Regions from separate parts of the Homo sapiens genome. Here all the other regions are linked to region 2. The links are contacts of gene promoters, found by promoter capture Hi-C in blood cells and fetal thymus (Javierre and others, 2016). All regions are on one chromosome and are shown on one strand. The core of a region is centred on a gene start or on the middle of the fragment in contact, and the rest is flanking DNA. Distances in the headings are between cores, read along the strand shown. Region 1 overlaps PLUT (PDX1 associated lncRNA, upregulator of transcription). Region 2 holds the start of CDX2 (caudal type homeobox 2). Region 3 overlaps PLUT (PDX1 associated lncRNA, upregulator of transcription).

Region 1 (2,926 bases), core at 113-2,612, 140 kb before region 2:
AATTGCAAATCCTTTTATGGGGGAGGACGCTGCCGATGTGGGTTAAATGGACAATGACGCTGGTTAAGTTGGAGGGTCCTTTGGAGACGGACACGTGGCTTCTCAATGAAAGCTGCTCCGGGCTCGCGTGGCCGCCTTCGCCCTGCACACACTTCTCCTCCCAAATACTTGAAAATAGACAGAGAAAAACAAGCAACTCACAAACTCAGCCCTTGGCCCTGGCGGGGAAACAGAATTTCTTTGCACTTTTTCAGAGATATAGTTTTTTTTTTTTTTTCTTTTTAAAGGACCTGTTTGGCCTCTCCAAAGCAGAAAGCCACCGACTTTTTTTGTTTTGTTTTGGAAAAAATCCCCTCCTCCCCCCAGTCCCCTCTGGATCAAGGCTTTAAAAGGGGCACGTATAGAAGTGGCTTTGTCCGACTCTCTGCCTCAAGGCCCATTGGAGATTCTGGGGCAACTGGGGCCTGGGGAGATGGGGAGGGGTGATTAGTCTCCAAAACCCAAAAGTGCTTGCTGCTGCCCTGCTCCTGCCCTCAGTTCCCATTAGCTCGGTGGCTCAGAGAGAGCCCACATAACACAGGCAAACAAACAAGACCTCCAGTGGGTCTGGCTTTTTCCAGGACAGCAGAGACTCCCCTCTGATGAGGTTCATTAAGTCCTGAGTCTTTCTCTTTCTGGCCCCTAATTTTAAAAAGTAAAGTACTCACAGGGATTTTGAGAAGTGAAGGGAGACACACCCACATTTCTACATTGTGCTTCATCTATGGAATCTGGATATTTTTACCACCTCTTCCCCCAGTCTCATAGGGCTGCTGTACGGGACACCCCCATACCAGTGCCCACCCCCAAGCCCTGGGAATCTCAGACATTTATATTCATTCAACTGGTTTACCCTTAGGGATTCTCTCCTTTTCTTTTTATCCCCCAACCCCGTCCAACTCTTCCCCCAAAAAAAGTGAGGGGAAAGGAAGGCTTCTGGATTTTTATTCTTTGTTTGATTTCAGCTTCTGGCAGCCGCCACAGCTACAAGACAGATATCCCAGAGCCTGCTTCCTATTAATGGTCCTTTCTATCACACTCCTCCACCCTGCATTTTTTTTTCCTGAGTTACCACAGTGCTTTTTTTTTGTGCATAGGCAACTGAGGTGCAACTGAACTGATACCCGGAGTTTCTGGTAAATAAAAAGCAAGTAATTTATGAAAGGGACCTATGTCTTTGCACAGCCTCTGGCTTGTCGCTTGAATGAATGGCTTCCTTTGAAGTATGCCATGTCTTAGCTCATAAATGTAATCCAGCATCAAAGGTACCCAGGCCCGGTGATGCAAAACTGTTTACTCTTCATTTTGATGTATACAAAAAGATGCCCTTTATTTCCCTGGACTCCAGTGAAAGATGCAGAATAGAACCAGAGAAGCCAGCCATGGGTTGGCTTGAAAAGGCTGAGCTGGGAGAGCAGAGGCGGCTCGACTGACAAAACCCAAATGTGGACACGCATGGGTCACTGGCTAGGGGTGTTGATTGTGGAGAGCCATCCAGTCACGAAATCCATCTCGACAGTGTGTGCTGATCAATCATGACCTTGTAGCGGCAACATTTATCAGCCTGGAAGCCATGAACTTTGGTTTGCTCATTTTACTTGAACCTGACGCTACCCTTGGGGACCAATGCCACACATTCACTGTAGGATTGATGCAGAGGACACCCCAAAAGGGAAATAGGAGACTGAGTTTCCTTTGTTAAAGGGGATTATAGCCACTACGCCTGTTTAACTCTTTCCTCCCCTGGCCCTGGAACCCATCCAGCTGGGGTGGGTGTGGGTATGGGGGCTGCAGTTGGCCCTAAGCTAAACCTAACACTTTGATAACTTACATACTCAGCAAAGTAATGGCAGTTCCAGCTAGAACAGCCTGGAACGTCTCTCCATGCTGGGATTGGAGGGAAAAGTTCATTTTGGCTAATTTCAACTTTTCCACCATTAAATCTGCACCTGCAATGTCAGGGGTCACCAAATAATAAAAAGTGGCATCTTTGAAACTGCTCAGTCACGTGAAAAGGGCTGTAATTGAGTAGATTCATTCTCTGAAGCCCCATCAGAGACACACAGCTCAGGGCTGGGGGAGGGGGAGAGGTTCAGGACAGGGAGGCAGGGCCAGGAGCAAGCCAGGCTCTGGGAGGGACCCGGGAGCAATGGCAGCTTCTGATGTGGTCCCTTGCTTTTGAAATCTGAGACTAAAAATAAATAAAGATCCCACACATTCACTCCATACACACCCACATACCCACGCTGGCCTCTAGCCTTTGTGAGCAGTTTGACCTGATAAATGCGCTTGGCTGGCATCAAATAGTTCTGCTTTGACCGATCCCATTTAAATATGTGAATTAGTCATGAAGCAGGACACAGCTTGGTGAGCTTGCTAAATTGTTGGACTCTATTGAAGGAGAAGGGAGAAAAAAAGAGAAAGCCATTCAGCGTTCTCAATTAGATGGAGAGGTAAGGGCATCCCAGCCTCAGGCCACCTCTCCTCACTCACTCCCCAAGCCTGGTCTCAAGTGCAGCAGTAAAAGCCTCCCTAGGCCATGAGGCAAAGGTCACCTGGTACCATTTGGGATTATTGTTGCCAGCCTCATGGAATACAGCACCTGTGGCCTTCCATGGCACAGATTGTCTGGGCTGTCTTAGGAGGCCAGTGAGTTTCCAGGGAGGCAAGGGCCCGCTGGCACTGGGATCAATGGACATCCTATGCCTGGGCTGGCGGGGACTCCAGGTTGATGCCACCATGGGAAAGGCTAACCTGGAGCTTCTGTAGGAATAGTTCTTAACCCCAATGCCCACCACACCCTGCCCAGGAGAGAAAGGAGGAGGAAGGAAGAGAGATTGGTGAGCTCCTGGGTAACTCACTCCTCTCTAAGTACAGTCCCCTTTGC
Region 2 (2,822 bases), core at 100-2,599:
TAGCCATCCTCCGACCCCCCCAGGTCACTTCTCTTCTTAGATGGCTCAGATGGGGAAAGAGAGAGCGGAGATAAATGGCCTAGACCTAGCCCAAGAAGGTTCGAGCCTCCCTCTCTCCTCGGCGGCCAGGAGCCACGCAAGGAATGCATGCCGCAGCAAGTGCCGGAGGACGCGATTCTGCCGGCGTCCAGCAGTGCTCACGCCGACATTCCCCGGAGCTTCCCGAAGGTGTCCCGGGGTTGCGAATGAGGAGCTCTTGGAAAGAGGACGCCTGAACACGGTGTTGAGACTCAGAATATTCACTCCCAGGCTCAGTAGGTCAGAGAAGCCCCGACGGGCCAGAGGCCCCCGAATTTGTCTCCGGGCCGTGCCCCTCCTGGCGCCGAGCTCCCAGACAGCCCGGGACGCCCCTGTGCGCACTGGACGCGCGACGCGCAGCAGCCACTGGCTCGACCCGCGCCTTCCCAAGCACCCTCCGAAGGGGCGCAGCCTCTGCTTACCTTGGCTGCCGAGGGACTGCTGCGCCGGCTTCCGCATCCACTCGCACAGGTTCCGCCGCTGGCCGCCGGGAGACAGCTGCTCGGCGGCAGCGGTGGCGGCGGGCCCAGGAGGGCCGGGGTTGAGCGTTTGCAGCAGCCCAGAAGCGCAGGAAGGCGCGGCGGCCGGGTGGTGCGGGTGGTGATGCGGGTGGTGGTGCGGATGGTAGTCTGCGGGGCTGCTGTAGCCCATGGCTGCGGCCGGGGAGCCACCGTTGAGGCCGTGAGCCACGGCGTTGGCGGCGGCCGCGGCGCCTCCGGGCGCGTAGCCATTCCAGTCCTCCCGGAGTGGGGCGCCATACGCTGCCGGCCAGGATGGCCCCGGGGACTGCGCGCTGTCCAAGTTCGCTGCCGCTGCAGCTGCGGCCGCCACGTGGTAACCGCCGTAGTCCGGGTACTGCGGGGGGCTGACGAAGTTCTGCGGCGCCAGGTTGAGGCCGCCAGAGTGGCGCACGGAGCTAGGGTACATGCTCACGTCCTTGTCCAGGAGGTAGCTCACGTACATGGTGGCGAGGGTCCGGGAGCAGACCTCACCATGCTGCCTGGGGACCGACGCTGGAGGCTGCCGGGGGGCACGAAGGGAAAGGGGCGAGGGGACTCGAGGAGCGGCGGGTGGCTGCGCCCCAGCCCGCGGTGCTCCGCTGGCTCCTCGCGGCTCTTCTGCCTCCGAGGCGGTCCCTCCCTCTGGCCTGCCTCCTCCCTCCCTCCCTTTCTTCCTTCTTTCCTCCCACCTCCTTCCCACTAGGCTGCAGAGGCGGGGAAGACCCGCCACAGGCTGGCGTGCGGAGCCCCAGGCCGGCGGCCTTCCGTGATTAACGAGTGTTTACAAGACTCTATTAGTAATGACACAGACACCAATGGTTGGAGACGTCGAGGCGCAGCGCGCACTCTACGCACAACCCCTCGAAACATAATTTGCATTTTAAAAGATAAAGGGGAGGGAGGCTCGTGAGAGGGCAGCGACCTGACACAGCTAAATATTCAAACCTTTATTGTTAAGAGCTTCCTCCTTCCAACCTGGTGCACTTTAACCTCCAATCACAGGTTCAAAGAATGAAATCAAGAGACTTACAAAAGAGAGGGGAAGAGAAAAGGCTATCTTGGTAGGAATCTGAGCTTGGAGACAGGAGCAGTGGTTGTTTATGCATTTGCAGGGAAGAGGGCGGTCAAGAAACTCCTTCTGTCCCAAAGAGAAAAGAAAAGAGAACCATTGCTTTGATGAGAACGTTTCTGACCAACCTGGTAGGTGACAAGCAGAGAGCCCTAAGAGATGGGCCATTCCTTCCCGCCCTGTGCTCCTGGCCCGGACGACTGCAGCCCCAAACAACTGTCACCTCCAGTTATTTTCTTGCCCAAGGAAATTACTCGCCCTCCGCACAAGACAAATTATGATCCTAGATTCAGGCTGCATCTCTGACTTCATCTTACATTTGAAATTTGAGTTAAATTCAAGCGATTTATTGTTAAACGTTTACATTCAAGAATCAGAAGTTTTAAACTACAGAAGTAATGGGCATGTGGTAGAAGTTAGGCTAGTGGTTATTGGCGTGCATAACTGGAGGCGAGCTAGGGGATCGTTGGTAAAGCAGTTTCTTAGGCTGCTGGTTACACAGAATGTCAGTTTGTGAAAATTCATTGAGCTACACTTGTATGTTTATTATACTTAAATATAAGGAAAAGAGAATTTCTGCTAATGCTTACCTAGGTATTTATGTGTCTTACATCATACCTGTATCTTTAAAACTCTCTGTCCTTTACAAAGGGAAACGTTCTCCGAAGAAATTTATTTCTCATTTCCAGGAGATGATAAGGCAACTCAGGGCCATTATTAACGACTGCTAATGAAAAGCTCTGAGTTGAGAAAGGATCTCTCTTGGTTTGGGAAGCGCTGCGGCCAAGGGGCCTAGGGCTGGAAGTGGCCGTCTTGGGGACCGAAGCCGCGCAGCCCGGGATCGGGAGCTGCCCCGACAGGAGCGCGGAGGCGGCGAGATTCGGCCCCCGCGCGCGCCCAGCTCGGTTTCAGCAACCGCGTGGAGTGGGCCTGCGGCCGCCGTTCACCTCCTAATACAAGCCTTTGACAGCGCTGCCAGATTCGGGAATGAGGATCACTGCGGCGAGGCCCGGCGGGCTGGGCAGCCTGACTCGGCGGCTTTGAGCGCTCTCAGAACCCGCGGGCGCTCGCGGCACTCCTGGAGACCTGCACTTGTCTGTTCTCATTGTCAAGCGTTTCGCTCGGATATTTGTCACCATCGCCTTCATCCTGTCATTTCTAGGGTGCTCTCCAGT
Region 3 (3,005 bases), core at 219-2,718, 130 kb before region 2:
GATTGCGCCACTGCACTCCCGCCTGGGTGACAGAGTGAGACTCCTCAAAAATAAAATAAAATAAAATAAAATAAAATAAAATAAAATAAAATAAAATAAAATAAAAAAGTATGATTTGGTCAAGAACATCTACAGGGTATCCTCATTTGACCATGACATATTCAAGGTAGAAAATCCATCTCATTTATCTTTGTAACTGCCAAGCACCCAGCACGATGACATATAATAATAGGTGCTCAATAAATATTTGTTGGGTGAGTGCACAAATGGGTGCCCCAAAATACACTTTCATGCAAAAACAGACAATTTTGCAGTAAACAGACTCCAGCCTTTTATTTTGTTTGCTCTCAGCTCCTTTATACTTTAAGCTCATCTCACTCATTTCTACTAGGTTTCCTTCCGAAAACCCACAGCGGGCCTAGACCATTTTGGTCAAATTTGAGCTGATTGCATCACTTCCATGGACAAAATCTTAGAAAACTACTTATTCTATATACTGAATAAGATTCACATCCCTCTATACTCTTCCCATACACACAGAGAGACAACCTGTGTCATCAGCCAGGAAGGAAATATTTGCTGAGGTCTTAGCCTGTACTAGGGACTGTCAACAATGAAAAGAATGGTAAAATATTATTTCTGCCCTGAAAGAGTTTGAAATGTGAGTTTGTTATTTGAGGACTCTATGACGCATATTCTGTTCATTATATAATTGCTCACCTTTTCACTTCTCTTCAGCTGAGTCATGAATCTTCTTCGTTTCTGTTCCAGTGCTTTAGCTGCAGGGGGCAGTTTCTGGCCTGTGCACTATAGGCCACGGCTGATGCCACGTCATCCCCCAGGATTTTGGGAGAAAAGCCCTCGACTTCTCTCCAACTCTCTCCTTTTTCTCTAGGATGAGGCCAAAATACACATATTTGTTTTCACCTCTTATCCAAGTATATTGAAAGGATTAATGAGAGTGCTTTAAAGCCCTTTGATAAGGCATGGTATATTGCCAAGGTAATCAACGATTATGTTTTCTTATATGAAAGTTAAAATAAGCCACAGGAAGGAGTCTAGCCTTCCACGTTTACCGGCGTTTATTTTTGAACGCTGTTTTCTTTGCCATTCACCATTAGGAAAACAGAGTCTGAGTACTGTGACTTTAAGGGCCTATAAACCTATAAATCTTCCTCCCAGGTCAGGGTAAATAATTCTCCTTTCTACCATAATTGGGGAAGTCAGAAGTGTGCTCAGTGTGTGGCTTGAAAGATTCTTTGCCAAAATTCTACCCCAGTGGACAAGCCTGGGCTTTCATGAGGGGATCTCAACTTTCTCAGCCTCTTGGCAGCTGGCAATGCCGCCTTGAAATGCCTTCCTTTGCTTCCATGACATCCCTGGGGACCCCTTCTCCATATCCTTCAGGGGACCTTCCTCCGCAGCCCAGCCTCTGAATGCTGGTGGCCCCCAGTGCTCGGTCCAGGTCCTCTCCTTCCTCACCCTTCACTCTTCTTGGGTAAGCTCACATGCTCTCATAGCTGTAGAGACCTTTTAGAAGGGGCACATTCTCCTTGTTTCTATGTGGAAACCCTCTCTAGAATATTCCCTCAGCCCCTGGCCTCTTCATTTCACTTACTGGTGGTCTTTAGAGGAAGAATTGGGCAGGCTCCTCTGGGCCCCTCACTCTGCCTCAGAAGTCCATCCACCTACCTGCCCTCTGCCTTCTGCTGTCTGCCCTGGATGAGGGTGAAAGGAAAAGGCTGACTATTGTCCATCTGGGCCAGTGACCGGATGTGCAAGGCCACCTAATTTTGAGGGAAGTATTAACAGGCCCATCTGGACACAAATCTAGGGCCACAGCCTCTGATTGGCTTCATCAGCACGAACGCTGACATTTAATCTCCATCTGCCCACAGCTAGGTTTACCTCTCAGTTGGTTCTACGCTCAGTGGGGATGAAGGGTGCTCTGTTGACCCTCTCCCTTTCCCCCACCCCACACTATCTAGTTATCAGACAAAATGGACTTTGAGAAAAAAAATTACCAAAGAAGGATCTTTTATAAGGATAAAGGCATTAATATACTAAGAAGACAAAGAATCCTATGAGGGTGTGTGTCTTGTAACAGAGCTTAAATATCCCTGAGGAAAAAATTGACAGAAATAATCCACAATCATAGATGAATATGAATATGAATATCTTAGGATAGGGCTGCTAGAAAAAAATCAAGAAAAAGATAGATGGACTGAACAACACTATTAACCACTTTTATATAATTGCTATTTATAGAATCTATATCTACCAGTTACAACTGCAGAATACACATTCTCTTCAAGCACATGTGGTTTGTTGACCAAAATAGACCATATGCTGGACCATAAAACAAGGTTCAATAAATTGAAGAGGATTTATATTTTATAGAGCCTATTCTCTGATTAAAACAGAATTACATAGAAATTAAAAACAATAAGATAAGTAGACACCAAATATTTGGAAATGAAACAATTCACTTCTAGAGAATCAATAGGTCAAAGAAGAAATCATGACGGCAATTAGAAAATACTTGGAACTAAATGATAATGAAAAAGGTAAAAATTTGTGGAATGTAAGCAAACAGTGGTTAGAGAGAAAGTTATACCTTTAAGTGCTTATACTGGGTCAGGTGGTGGGAGGGTGTACAAAAACAGAGACTTAAGAGTCCACAATAAGAAACTAGAAAAAGAAGAGCAAAGTGAGCCCAAAGTAACTAGAAGAAAGGGAATAATAAAGATAAGAGCAGAAAAAGAACACAGAACTGAGAAAATTAGCAAAGAGAATGAAGTTTGACAAGAGTGCCAAGACAATTTAATGAGAAAAATGTCTTTTCAATTAGCTGTGCTGGGACAACTGGATATCCACATGCAAGAGAAAGAAGCTGAGCCACTGCCTCACACCATATACAAAACATAAGCCAAAATGGAGCAGTGTCTTCAAGGTAAATCCATAAAATGCCTAAAAGAAAATATAGGAGTAAATCCTTGGGTCCT

Evidence for each region. Contacts are between HindIII fragments. The CHiCAGO score rates a contact against its expected background, and 5 or more counts as called.
Region 1: a contact is called between a fragment that was not itself captured here and the fragment with the promoter of CDX2 in region 2, in 1 of 17 cell types (total B cells). The highest score is 5.7, in total B cells.
Region 3: a contact is called between a fragment that was not itself captured here and the fragment with the promoter of CDX2 in region 2, in 1 of 17 cell types (M2 macrophages). The highest score is 6.0, in M2 macrophages.

The regions. Positions count from the first base shown.
Region 1 is chr13:27,823,096-27,826,021 of GRCh38, forward strand. The region is part of intron 3 of PLUT (PDX1 associated lncRNA, upregulator of transcription); the gene reads right to left. Among named protein-coding and RNA genes, the nearest start is that of GSX1, 32 kb to the left of the region's middle. RefSeq lists an enhancer at 1-304. The HindIII fragment of the contact is 4,198 bases long and covers 1-2,926 here.
Region 2 is chr13:27,967,966-27,970,787 of GRCh38, forward strand. CDX2 (caudal type homeobox 2) reads right to left here and starts at 1,350. Exons shown (of 3, transcript NM_001265.6): 1 at 501-1,350. The coding sequence starts at 1,041. RefSeq lists an enhancer at 585-1,276. The HindIII fragment of the contact is 4,126 bases long and covers 1-2,822 here.
Region 3 is chr13:27,839,436-27,842,440 of GRCh38, forward strand. All of the region lies in intron 2 of PLUT (PDX1 associated lncRNA, upregulator of transcription), which reads right to left. Among named protein-coding and RNA genes, the nearest start is that of GSX1, 48 kb to the left of the region's middle. The HindIII fragment of the contact is 7,230 bases long and covers 1-3,005 here.